5 separate regions of the Homo sapiens genome follow, and regions 1, 2, 3 and 4 are each linked to region 5. Evidence: promoter capture Hi-C in 16 types of primary human blood cells and fetal thymus (Javierre and others, 2016). All regions are on one chromosome and are shown on one strand. Each heading gives the region's core, a stretch centred on a gene start or on the middle of the fragment in contact. The rest is flanking DNA. Distances are from core to core; before and after follow the strand shown.

Region 1 (2,700 bases), core at 2-2,501, 450 kb before region 5:
TGCAGCAGACAACAGAAGTGTGCAAGTGGAGGGAAGAGCATAAAGGAGAAACGTGAAAAGCCCTGCAGACAGACAGTAACCTGTGAGAAAGGCATGGTCTCCTCAAGGTGAAACTGACTCAGCTTAACGGAATCCCTGAAACTGACAACAGATACATAATTAAACAATGCAACTATATAGAGGCAAAGGCCTGCTACGAAATCAATTCTGGAAATACAAAATGTCTTCAAGAAACCCACAATGACAGACATATGGCCACAAGGGGTTCCTGTGAACAGCAGAGTTCTTCAGGGGTGGCCATCTACCCAGATGGGAGGGAGTCCCAACATCTGCTAGGGTCTCACCAAAAGGATTATCCACACTGCCAAGAAGTGGATGGAAACACAGGTGGTTGTGTATTGAGGAGATATGTACAGCTGCTCAATTCCCTGGAAGAGTGAGCACCTGCCAGACATTGGCTGGAGCTGCTGAACAAAGCTCATTTCTCCTGCCAAAGAAAGTAGAATTTACAAAGAGCTGAGGAGATCATAAATTCATGGTGAATATATCTAGTGTAGACAGGGATTTTGGGGAAGACAAAAATGTTAATGTGATGAAGTAGGGATTCTTCATCAGTCTAAATGGTTGCTTAATATGGTTAGATAAACATTCCAAAACATGGAGATGTTTTAAAGGGCAGTCTGAATTTCAGTGCCAAAATTAAGTATACTTTGTACCTTCTAAACACAAATCAGCACATAGTCAACAATTAGGAGTACTAGATTTCAAAAAGCTGAATTTTTTTATTTACACGCGCTTACCTCAAATACTGAAAGGTCTTTCCTTCGGTAAATTTCATTTGCTGGAGGATGAAACCATCCACACTTCTTGGAGTGTCTTAGCAAAATATTTTTACTTTTCATATATTTAAGACAGAATTCACACAGGTAAAGCTTTGGTAATCTGTTAAAGTTTAAAAATCATAGAATCTATCAGATAGATTATACTGTTGGGGGGAAGATTAAATATTGTTCAATTTTCTCTACATCATAAAAAGGCTGTATAATAACATTGGAGGCTGGGTGCAGTGGCTCACACCTGTAATTCCAGCACTTTGGGAGGCTAAGGCAGGCAGATCACCTGAGATCAGGAGTTTGAGACCAGCCTGGCCAACATGGTGAAACCTCATCACTACTAAAAATGCAAAAATTAGCTGGGCGTGGTGGCACATGCCTGTGGTCCCAGCTATTTGGGAGGCTGAGGCAGGAAGATCGCTTAAGCCCATGAGGCGGAGGTTGCAGTGAATCGAGATTGCACCACTGCGCTCCAGCCTGGGCAACAGAGTGAGACACCGTCAAAAAAATAAAGAAAGAAAGGAAAGAAAGGAAAGAAAGGAAAGAAAGGAAGAAAGGAAGGAAGGAAGGAAGGAAGGAAGGAAGGAAGAAAGAAAGAAAGAAAGCCAGCCAATAGTAAAGACAGAATGTAAAAACAACCATACATTATTTTTTAATATAATCCATAATATGTGCTCCCTTTACTTTGTGAACAAATAATTTGTTTCCTTAAAAATATCCTATATAAAGAAAGCTTTACAGATGTGGAACCACCACCCTAAAAAATCAACTTAATAAGGATATCATCCTGTCAAGGGACCAAGCATATTTTTCAAAATTCACATTTACTATCTTATTTCCAATTATATATGGTTAGTGGTATAGATATAATATCTTACTCAGAAGTGAATTTATTATTTTAAACAATCTGCATACATATGAGGCTGAAAAGTCCTCAAACTTAGTTGTTACCATTTCCACCTCTGGAAGAGGTAACTTTAAAGTTATTATCAGAGATTTATATATGGTCTAAATGCAGTAAATAGCACGGCTGAAAATCAAAAGACCTAATTTGTTTTCTACCAATTCCACTGTTACTTTGAGTAAAAGACAAACACCTCTCTTCCCTGCTGACTTTTTCTCCACCTTAAAAATCAGAACATTTTTTATTTCCATATCTTAATGAACATGGCTGGTATTTATAAGAAAATGTTTAGAAGCACTTGCAAGGTCTTTGGAGTATAAGAATGGGGAAAAAGGTTTTCAAGAGAGAGGCAGACACAGGTGAGACTACTTTCAAATCTTGCACTTATGTACAAATTTTATTCAAATCTTTCAGAGCACATGGCTTATCATTACCTATGCAAATTAAAGCTCATAGTCTTTTAAAATTGTTCAAGAACACACAACCAAATGGTATAAGGAAGGAGAAACCAAAATTCTTGACTCTTATTTTGTCACTTAACTTTTAGAAAACACTTAGCATTTTCTCCAGTTACGTGATTGGCCAGACACTCACATGCTAACGAAAAAAAATAAGATCTATTCTATAAGAAAATCAAGTTTATAAATACTGAAAACTTTGCAGACTAAAAAATTTTTGAAGATACTAGTAAAGTGTACCCTGACATACTTTATGGAAGACATCTATTCTCAATGTACCCATTTTGGGATATATTCGTTCACAGGCTAATCTTGAGTTCAAGACAAACAAAAACTTGGATACCATTATTTTCTCCTTTTTATTTTTTATTTTTTGAGATGGGATCTTGGTCTGTCACCTGAGCTGGAGTGCAGTAGTGCAATCTCGGCTTACTGCAACCTCCACCTCCTGGGTTCCAGTGATTCTCCTGCCTCAGCCTCCCGAGTAGCTGGGATTACAGGCATG
Region 2 (2,700 bases), core at 149-2,648, 500 kb before region 5:
CTTAAAAAATAACTCCAATATTTTATAAAGATAGAAAAATCTACAGATGGAATGAAAATGTAAAGTTAGAGGCATTTCCATAAAATAGCAACTTTACACCAAATTCACTATTTTTTTTTAAATCCTGCCAAGTATTTGGACATATATGAAATGTTTCAAAACCTGACAGATAAACACTGAGATATGCTTCATTCAATAAACAGAAGTCTGCATTTATAAAACAGAAAGCTGCCTTTTTTCCCCAAAGAAATCTGTCACCAAAATGGAAAAGGGTCTCAACTTTACACCAAACATTTAGCAATAAAACCCTTTTGACTAACCAAATGGGAATAGCTTTTATAGCTCTTTACAGTTTTATAATTAACAAAAATATAGTTTTTTTTAAAACCCTCAAATTAGGGCACCCTAATCAAGGCAAAAAACTTAAGAAATGGCTTACTGTTAGCACAACACTTGTACAGTACTACAAAATGCACTGTCACTAACAAAGACATTAGCGGCATGCTGAAGTGTCACCTTAAACAAAATATACAATAACTGAAATGCTAAAGGCATTTACATGGAGTGGACAGGGAAGGGAAAAAAAAAGCTCTAGGTTCAATATTAAAACAGATAATTTGGGGGGGCTTGATATCCACATTGTTTAACAGAAGCAGGCACAACAAGTGGCTGCCTCCAAATTGTAGTCCAAAGAGAGGCCTTCCTTTGCAGAGAATTTTATATAAAAGTAACAGAAATGAAGGTACCAAAAAAAAGAAAAAGGAAAAAAAGAAAAACAACTTGTATAAGGCTTTCTGCTGCATACAGCTTTTTTTTTTTTTAAATAAATGGTGCCAACAAATGTTTTTGCATTCACACCAATTGCTGGTTTTGAAATCGTACTCTTCAAAGGTATTTGTGCAGATCAATCCAATAGTGATGCCCCGTAGGTTTTGTGGACTGCCCACGTTGTCTACCTTCTCATGTAGGAGCCATTGAGAGACTGTTTGGACATGCCTGTGTTCATGTAGCCGTGATGTCCGGGGGCCGTGTACATCATGTTACCGTGGGGTGGGGTCTGCATTGGCTGCTGGGCATATGGCTGGGTGCCCATCATGCCCATCTGCATCTGCATAGGGTATTGGGGCGTTTGATTCATATAGCCATGATTGCTGTGGTAGCCACTGTTCATCATTGGCTGGGACATGCTGTACCCATTCATGGCGTTGAGAGTGTTCATGTTCATGTTCACAGAGTTGACATTGTAGGCTGGCGCTGGCATCAGGTTCACACTCATGTTCATGCCTCTTTGCATCGTTAAAGTCCGTGCAGGACCCTGCATGGCTACAGTCTGGGAGCGCCCATAGATTTGTGACTGATGGGTGGCAGCGGCTGGTGACAGAGACGCTGACTTGGTTCTCATGGAGATGTGGCCCTTGCTGGCAATCTGGGTTTGCAGTCTTTGGCTGTGAGAGATGCCAATATTTGATGCAGCCATGTTCCGTTGCAAAAGAGGCGGCGGCAGATTCATTGGAGGAGGAGTCAGGTTGGGGGGTGGGGTCATGGTAGCTTGTGCTTGGGGTCCCCCAGGGACGGAGTGTGGAGACTGAGAAAGTTGAACAAGCCCTGTGTTACTTAATGGTGTGGACAAAGAGGCACTGTTTGCATAGGAAGTCACAGCAGCGGAATGGCTGTAAGGCAATGAATGATCAATAAGTGTATTAGTTAACTGCTGCAGTTTGGCAAGGCTGAAGGTGGCTGACGGCTGCGGGTAATGCCCAGCCCCAAAATCACTCTGACCCATTCGCTCGTATAAGCCAATGTTGGCGTTGCTCGTCTCGGGGATTTCAGCCAGCTGCATGGGTGGGGTGAAGTTAGCAGCCATGCTGCACTGAGCCAGCTGCTGGCTGCTGCTCGGAGGCCTCTCCACCACACAGCCTTGAGGAGACTTGACGCTGCAGGTCGGAGGGGAGCTGATGCTGGTTTGCTGCAGCATGCTGCAGCTCCCGCTGATGTTGGACATCTGCTGGGTGACAGCACAGCTGCTCTGTGTCAGACTGCTGGAGGTGAGGTTGCTATAGGAGCAGCTGTTCTGTGAAGAGCCGTTTCCACAGATGCTGCCTCCCATAGTAGAATCGTAGCTGCTTGGGTTTTCGTAGTTCTCAGTTGTGCTCTCGATACTGCCCAGGTCACTAAATCCACTGTCTACGACTTGCTGTGAATGATCTGAAACTGATGGGACATCCATCATGGGACTGGTTTCCATGTTCTGCAGAGATGGCACTGAGATGGCACTTTGATCTGGGCTGATTTGGGCGTAGCTGTTTTCCAGAGCAGGGACACTTGGGCTGTTGACAGAACGTACGGACTGGCCAGGATGGGAGTGGACGGATGAAACTGGGCTACTGTGGTCCGACTGTTGGCAATCGTCGAGCGTGGTGGCAATCTGTGGACTTTGGTCTGCACGGGTGTAGTTCTGTAGGCTTCTACAGGCCTCTTGAGTCTCGGCACAATCCTGAAAGGTGTCGTCCTGTTCGCTGCTCTCCTGGGTCAAAGACTGAACGGCCTGGACAGTCTCAGAGTCGATTTCCATGGTTGCTGGGTTTCCCTCTTTGAACTCTGTATCGACTTCCTTGCTGTTCTTTTGGTCCTGCTTCTGTGCCTGTTCTCCTGGGGGTGGCTCCTCGTCAGATTCGGGTACAGCTTCAGGGTCCCCAGCAA
Region 3 (2,700 bases), core at 26-2,525, 260 kb after region 5:
ACACATTATCTTATTTTATCATCACCATAACTATATCAATAGTTGTATCAACAATTTTGCCAGTGAGGAAATGGACTCTGAGAAGTCACACAACTAATAAGTAGCACAAATGAGATTAAAGTAAAAACAAATTCTAGTGAAATAAAATCAATAGTGTAAGAACAGCTTAGCCAAAAAAAAAAAAAAGTTTTTCATGTGTTGGGGGGTGTTGCTGTTTCTTAAAGATATGGTGACTTGCTCTGTTGCTTAGGCTGGAGTGCAGTGGCGCAATCGAGCTGCAGCCTCGAACTCCTGGGCTCAAGCAATCCTCCTGCCTCAGTCTCCTGGGTAGCTAGAACTACAGGTTCATGCCACTATCTCTGGCTAACTTTTAAATATTTTGTAGAAATGGGATCTCATTATGCTGCCCAGAGCGGTCTCAAACTCCTGGCTTCAAGTGAACCTCCCACCACAGCCTCCCAAAGTGCTGGGATTACAGGTGTGAGCCACCATACCTGGCAAAGAAAAACAGCTTTAAGATGACTTCCTTAAAGAAATAAGTGCAATTTTACAACCATTCTTTATTTCCCTAATAAGATCCAAATTTTCTTTGGGGAATCATCCCTTCAACACTCTTAATCCATAAATTTCCAGCAGTGTTAACTCTATCTCCAGTTGCAGAGTAGATATGGAACCCAAACAAGCCAAAGAGGCCTAATATGACATAATCCTACACCTGTTTTTAGAGCCACTAAAACAGACAGACAGACACACACACACACACACACACACACACACACACACACAAATAAGGATATAAGCCAATAGCTGATGGCAGTACCCTACCTCTAGAAGATGAGGTGAAGAGGGTCCAAATAAAATTATTTGAACCTCTGCATCAAGCTTCACCTAAAATCAGCCATACCAACATCTTTTTAGATATGTGATCCAATAATTTCCATTTACTTAAGCCAGTATGAGTTAGGGTTTCTGTCACCTGCACGATACACATATCAACAAAAATTTAATGGTGTAACTCATCTCCAGAAATCAAATAATGCACTTAATTATTCCCAATCTGGAATCTTAAAAAAAAATGTAACAGGAATCAAGGAATCATCTTCAATACAGTCATTCCTCAGTATCTTTGAGGGATCCAGGACCCAACTTGGATACCAAAATGCACACATACTAAAGTACCACAGTTGGCCCTGTTGAACCCATAGATCCAAAAAGTTGGCCCTTCTCTCCATATACACAACTTTCACATTCCTTGAATACTGTATTTTCCATCCATTTTTGCTTGTAGATGCCAAACCAACCCATATAGAGGGCCAACTGTATTTACTGGAAAAAAACTAATATAAGTAGGTGCATGCAGTTCAAACCTGTGCTGTTTGAGGGTCAACTGTATTTGCATATAACCTGCATACATCCTCCCCAAACTTTAAATCATCTCTAGATTACTAACAATATCTAATACAATGGAAATGTATGTAAACTTTTGTCATATTGTTTAGGGAATATTGACAAGGAAAAATGTGTACATGCTCTGTACACAGGCAATTTCTTTTTCCCTAATATTTTCTTTCCACGGTTTAATCCACCAATGTGGAACCCATGGATATGTATTTCAAAAAAATTCAGTGGAATTGTACATTGACCTAGGAAAAGGCCACTAAAGCTTATTAAAACACCAAGTTCCTTCTGATTATATAATTTCAATATGAAAATTTCAATTATCTTTTTTAATATGAATTTTAAATGAAAATACCTTTTTATATACAACCTTTAAAATTAGAAAGAAATGAACTATTACTTTTAAAACACAGTTTATTTGGTGGACAAACTTCTTTACAATGCAAATTCCAGAAAATTTTTCAAAATGATCACTGGAGAAGAAAATATCAAGAACTATAATATACTATGGGTTATACTCAATAAGACAATTCGCTCATTTACTATACAAGCAGTGCCTTTTTTTTTCTTCTTTTTTTCTTTTTTTTGAAGCAGAGTCCTGCTCTGTCACCCAGGCTGGAGTGCAGTGGCGCGATCTCCGATCACAGCAACCTCTCCTTCCCCGGTTCAAGCAATTCTCTGCCTCAGCCTCCTGAGTAGCTGGGATTACAGGTGCCCGCCACCACGCCAGGCTAATTTTTGTATTTTTAGTAGAGACGGGGTTTCATCATGTTGGCCGGGCTGGTCTTGAATTGCTGACCTCGTGATCCACCCACCTCGGCCTCCCAAGGTGCTGAGATTACAGGCGTGAGCCACTGTGCCCGGCCGCCTTTCGATCTTTCTATTCTGAGGTTACTGAGCCTCCAGAGACTTCAAATAAGCAGTCTAAGACTAATGGCACCACCTAGCGTCCTGTACTGGTCACTATCTGACTCACTGTCTTCTACTTCCTTTTGCTGCTGGACATAGGCTAGTCTTCTTCTATTGCTGTTTTTCTTTAGTAATCCTTCCAAAAGTCATTTATGTCTCATTTATATATACATACACATCAACACATCATCCTTAAGTCTCCTTCTCTCATCCCTCTCTCTGCAATTGTCCCATTACTTTAGGAACAACTATTTAGTATGCCCTTGATCTTTCCCAGGTACTTGGTCCTTAACCTATATTATCATCACAAGCACTTTATAAACCTAATAGAACCTCTACTCACATGCCCTAGATCCCCTAAATCTCAGATAATTGAACAGGTACTGCAAATCT
Region 4 (2,700 bases), core at 188-2,687, 470 kb before region 5:
GAACAAAAAAACGAAATGCCATCATGAGAGGGGTAAGTGGAAGCAAACTTTTATCTTAGAATATTCTATCTCAAACATAATGTCTCTATTACAAGCTGGAATATATGTTCAAGGGGGAATAGTTCTCTTGAAACCCAAATGAGGTATAGCACTAATTTCAACCAAGCAGAGCAAAATCTTTCTTGATCTTGTTTTAACAACAGCTCAGGGCATAGTGGCTCACACCTGTAATCCCAGTGCCTTGGGAGGCCGAGGCAGGAGCATAACTTGAAGCCAGGAGTTGGAAACCAGCCTGGGCAACAAAGCAAGAGCCTGTCTCTAGCTGACCCCCCACCCCTCCCCCTGAAAAATGGCCAGGAATGGTGGCATGTGCCTGTAATCCCAGCTACTTGGGAGGCTGACATGGGAGGATCACTTTAGCTCAGGAATTCAATGCTGCAGTGAGCTATGATCACGCCACTGTACTCCAGCCTGGGTGACAGAGTGAGACCCAGTCTTTAAAAAGAAAAGCAAGGAAAAATGCGTCTCTTCTATATATCTTAACTGGGTAAATGGAAAATAGAGTTGGAAGCATTTCCTCCTCTGCACTGCCACAGCCTCTCTGAAATTTGAAATTGCAGGACTGGGAAGAATTTTGTGTCTGACCCTCTACTTCCCTATGGGCAAGGACTAAATCATTCATCCTTATGTCCTCATCACCTAGACCATCCCTGGCACAGTGTATTTAAAGCATGTTTGCTGAAGGATGGGATGAAGGGATAAATAAAGTGTAAAAAACAAAGACTGAGAGGAGATCTGAGTTTAAGCACTACTGGTCAAAAGCTAGCTGGATGCATCTGGCAGGTGTTGACAGTCATACAAAGAAGTGGATTAACTAGACTCAGGCATTCATTGATTTCCCCCAACAATCCTTTATTCTGTATCCTCTATGTGCTAGGCACTGTGCTCATGGCTTGGAGTTTAGCAATGACCAAGTTCCTGCCCTCTTGATGGTCCCACTAAGGTTTCATTTTGTTCCAGTTCTGCTGAAGATTAGGTTATTCTCATACCAATTATTTGAATGGAATTTGTCCAGTAGTGGATTTCAAAATAACTCAATGCAAATGCCAGTCAACGTTAGAAATCCAAACAGACAAAAAATTTGTTTGGTAAAAAAAAAAAACCAACCACCTGCATGCCAAAACTTGAAAAAATTCTGAGCTATGTAAGGCAAAACACTAGCTTTCAGAAAAAATGAGAGAGACTGCAGACCGTATGTTTCATATTTACAATGTTTTCATTGAGGCAATGAATACAAACTATTCTATAAGAGCTATTTATTTGCTCTTATTTATGACAAGCTTAGCTTAAAAAAAGATACACAAATAAATCGTTAGCCGCACTGTCTCATGCAACTCATTTCAATGCATTCAGCAACAGTCAACCTCTGAATAAATCACTGAGAGCTCAATTTTCAACCTTGATGTTATCTTTAGCATATTAAAATATATTGTACCTCAGACCAATATAATAAAACAGTAATGGCAGAAGCTTTTAGTGTAACATATTATAATGAGAAAATAAGGAAAAATAGCCATTTTCCTTATTATATTACAGACTAGAATCCTATTAAAATAAATGTCATCATTATACTTGATTACATAGGTCAAAATGTGTCTTCCAAAACCCAGCAAAAGCCCAAGGATATAGCTGCTGGTCCAGTATTTTCCAACAAGTGTCATGGGGGCAAAGGTGGGAGGCTCCTTATCTTAGAAAAGGCTATGAAGTACTTGAGCACCATTTCAAAAGCATAACTTATTATTCTTTAATGATTGCCTTGACTGCACTCACCCAGGAGCGTAGCTGCTGGGAAGGCTAAGCAAAGAGAAGCTTTCTTGACAGCTTCTTATGGCTAAAGCTGGTATTTTCCTTTCAAAAATAAATGCAATCAAGAAATGAATTATCTGATAAGAGAAAAAGTAAGCAAAAGATTTAAGTGTCTCTTCAACCTGCTATGTACAAATGTGGATTATGTCACAGCTCTGCTTTCTCCGCCCAAGGTTTAGAGCAGGCAGTGACATCTTCTTTCTGATGCAACTGAAATGATCTTAAGATAGAGGCTGCATTTCAGCAAAAGTACCAGACCTCGAAAGAAGACAGGGCATACCTAGCATCATTTGGAAGTAAGTAAACCAGTGCTGATGGTTTATGTTCTAATAAAATAAAATTGTCCCTAAGAATCACACACTAGAAGGGAAAGCACATTTTAAAAGTTCTTCCCGTCATAATTAATTTAACATTTGTTCAACAATTAATAAGAACCTACTAAGCGCCAGGCTCTTCTAGAAGATCAGAATGCAGCAAAGAGCAAAGTCCACACTCTCATGAAGCTTACTTTTGGTGAAAGACATGGGCAATCAACAATAAATACAGTCATGCACCACATAATGATGTTTAGGTCAACGATGGACCACATATTCAATGGTAGTCCCATAAGATTATAACAGCATATTTTTACTGTACCTTTTCTATATTTAGATATGTTTAGATACAAAAATACCATTATGTTACAACCACTAACACCTACGGTATCCAGTACAGTAACTGCTGTCCAGGTTGGTCACCTAGGAGCAATCAGCTATGCCACATAGCCTAGGTGTGTAGTAACCTATAGACTTCGACTTAGGTCTGTCTAAGTACATACACTATGATGTTCACACG
Region 5 (2,737 bases), core at 8-2,507:
GTTTATCTTATTTATTTCTTGTCTCACAGGGATCATTGATCATTGCCTGTGAAGAAATAATCTTTGTGGACAAGGTATTATTTTTTTTAAATATTGAGGCTATCAGAAGTTTTAAATCATCATTACTACTGTACAATCCTCTGACAAGAGGAAGGTGACATGTAGAAAATAAGGGCCAAGTGTGTTTGATTTTAGCTGAGTTTTGACATTTTAAAAATTTATACTAAACACAGTATACTTTATTTTTTTGAGGGGGGAAATATTAAAGAATCCTACGTATATTCTCTGATAACTATATTTTATCCTTCGTCACATTTTAGAAGTAAAATGTCTCTTTTTTCCTGGAAAACTGAAGATAACATTATCACTATAGTATTCAAGGAGAAAAACAATGGATGATGAGATTAAAGGGATAAAGCATTTTACTCTACTTGCTTTTTATAATCAAATACGATATAATTTTTATTATCCCTATTAAATTTCATCACTCAACTGATATTTAGAGTCTACTAACATTTAAAAAAATCTGATTTTGACCTTCAACTTACCTAGTATGTATTAAGGTGTTGTATTATTTGCATTTGAATTATATGCAAATATAGCTTTATCTAAATCACTGTTTACTTAAGCAAAGGCAGGGTAAACACTGAGGCGTACCCCTAGAAATCAATTTATTTATCAACAGACCTTTTGAGACTGCTTCAATAAAATACCAAATACCTCTAATTGTCTTATAGCCAATCTTTATTATTCTATAGTCCACGTAATGACAGATGTTCTAAAATATACTATGTATCCACTGCTTATTGGTCTGCCATAATAGGTACTTAGGTACTATATAAATACCTCTTGAAGCGAATTCAAATGAACAATAATCATACCAAAAGAGAAAAGATTTTCTTGCCCCATGACTTACAGCCACGTAGCAGCTTACAGTTTTACCACTTCCTCTTCTAGGTGGGGAAAAATAATTCCTTTAATAATCTATGCTAAGCTGTGATCCAACTTTTAAGTTTACTGATTTGTAGAATAAAACTTTTTCAAAAAAATTGTGGTAAACTATACATATGATAAAATTTTCCATTTTAAGTATGCAATTCATTGGCACTAAATACATTCACAGTGTGGCGCAACTATCACCACTATCCATTTCCAGAACTTTTTCATCATCCCAAACAGAAGCTCTGTACTTATTACACAATAATGCCTCATTCCTCCCCACCCCACTCCCAGGTAATCACTATCCTACTATGTGTCTCTATGAATTTGCCTATTCTAGATACTTCTTGTAAGTGGAATTCTTCTTAGAAAATCCAATAATTGTCTGATGTGTCTGGCTTATTTTACTTAACATAGTATTTCCAAAATTCATTCATGTTGTAGCATGTATCAAAATTTTATTTAAGGCTAAATAATACTCCATTGTATATATACATGAAATTTTGTTTATTCATCTGTTGATGAATATTTGATTTGCTTCTATCTTAGCTATTGTGAATAATGCTGCTATGGACATTGGTGTACAATTATCTGAGTCCCTGCTTTCAGTTATTTTGGGTAATATACCTAGAAGTAGAACTGCTAGATCATATGGTAATAATTCTATGTTTAACATTTTGAGGAACCACCAAATTGTCTTCTACATTCCCATTTTACATTCCCACCAGCAATACACAAGTGTTTCCAATTTCTCCACATCTTCACCAATACTTGTTAATTTCCATTTTTTAAAACAATTGTCATTCTGATGGGTGTGAAGTGGTATCTAATTTTGGTTTTGATTTGCACTTCTTGAATGGTTATGTTGAGCATCTTTTCATGTGTTTACTGGCCATCTGTATATCTTCTTCGAATAAATGTTTATTAAATTCCTTTGATCATTATTGAATTATGTTGTTAGTTTGCTTATTGTTGAGTTGTTACTGTGTTAAATATTCTGAATATGAATCCTTTATCAGATATATGATTTGCAAATATTAACTCCCATTCCACTAGTTGTCTTTTCACATTCTTGTTAGTGTCCTTCGATGCCCAAAAATTGTTAATTTTGATGATGTCTAATTTATCTATTTTTTCCATTTGTTGCTTGTACTTTGGAGTCTTTTTTTTTTTTTTAAGTGAAGATTGTTTTGATATCATCAGCATCTGCTGCAAACTTAAACCACTTTTGGGACTTTCTTTTCTCTTTTGTCTCTACCAAACTTTTAGCATCATTCCCTGATTCTAAATACATTTTCCACCTTCTTTTTACATGTCTTTTACAAATTTGAGCTTTTTTTTTAAGTTTTAAAACTTTTATAAGTTCAGTGTTGTCACTGTATGTTTACATATTCATTGATACAATTTACATCGAGATTTTTACTTATCCATTTTTGCAGATATGTACACAAAGATACATATTCAATAACTGAGAAACAAGTGAAACTTCTGATCTATACTTTCAGGTTTGTTCGATCATGACACTTCTGATAAGGATCATGGACATACCAGTTTCACCTCTTCCAGAAGGACGTCGTCATTTTATCTTAAGAGTTTACTCTGGGTTTTATTGCCGAATACAAATTCCCTCAATCGCTTTTTTCTTGCAGGTGCCTTTTTCCATAATTTTTTCTTATAACCAGCCCTTCTCATCCAAAGGCCACAATGAAGTCGAAGAAACCTATAGATGACAGCTTTCACAATCCTTCTCTTGCCTTTTCCTGTACTGACGTATGTTAGAGATCTGGCTGGCAGCTTC

What was found. Contacts are between HindIII fragments. The CHiCAGO score rates a contact against its expected background, and 5 or more counts as called.
Region 1: a fragment that was not itself captured here is called in contact with the fragment with the promoter of ADK-AS1 in region 5 in 1 of 17 cell types (activated CD4 T cells); the score reaches 5.1 in activated CD4 T cells.
Region 2: a fragment that was not itself captured here is called in contact with the fragment with the promoter of ADK-AS1 in region 5 in 1 of 17 cell types (total B cells); the score reaches 5.1 in total B cells.
Region 3: a contact is called between a fragment that was not itself captured here and the fragment with the promoter of ADK-AS1 in region 5, in 3 of 17 cell types (M2 macrophages, M1 macrophages and M0 macrophages). The highest score is 6.4, in M2 macrophages.
Region 4: a fragment that was not itself captured here is called in contact with the fragment with the promoter of ADK-AS1 in region 5 in 1 of 17 cell types (fetal thymus); the score reaches 6.1 in fetal thymus.

The regions. Positions count from the first base shown.
Region 1 is chr10:74,980,029-74,982,728 of GRCh38, reverse strand. It overlaps KAT6B (lysine acetyltransferase 6B), which reads right to left. Exons shown (of 18, transcript NM_012330.4): 11 at 801-942. Among named protein-coding and RNA genes, the nearest start is that of SNORD172, 40 kb to the left of the region's middle. RefSeq lists an enhancer at 126-175. The HindIII fragment of the contact is 634 bases long and covers 935-1,568 here.
Region 2 is chr10:75,029,299-75,031,998 of GRCh38, reverse strand. KAT6B (lysine acetyltransferase 6B) reads right to left here. Exons shown (of 18, transcript NM_012330.4): 18 at 1-2,700. The coding sequence ends at 953. Among named protein-coding and RNA genes, the nearest start is that of SNORD172, 8.9 kb to the right of the region's middle. RefSeq lists an enhancer at 1,375-1,874. The HindIII fragment of the contact is 2,870 bases long and covers 1-2,700 here.
Region 3 is chr10:74,265,841-74,268,540 of GRCh38, reverse strand. All of the region lies in intron 3 of ADK (adenosine kinase), which reads right to left. Among named protein-coding and RNA genes, the nearest start is that of ADK, 120 kb to the right of the region's middle. The HindIII fragment of the contact is 781 bases long and covers 885-1,665 here.
Region 4 is chr10:75,002,518-75,005,217 of GRCh38, reverse strand. All of the region lies in intron 13 of KAT6B (lysine acetyltransferase 6B), which reads right to left. Among named protein-coding and RNA genes, the nearest start is that of SNORD172, 18 kb to the left of the region's middle. The HindIII fragment of the contact is 190 bases long and covers 1,343-1,532 here.
Region 5 is chr10:74,527,844-74,530,580 of GRCh38, reverse strand. ADK-AS1 (ADK antisense RNA 1) reads left to right here and starts at 1,257. Exons shown (of 5, transcript NR_120673.1): 1 at 1,257-1,288; 2 at 2,589-2,737. All of the region lies in intron 7 of ADK (adenosine kinase), which reads right to left. It also overlaps the pseudogene MRPL35P3. The HindIII fragment of the contact is 4,742 bases long and covers 1-2,737 here.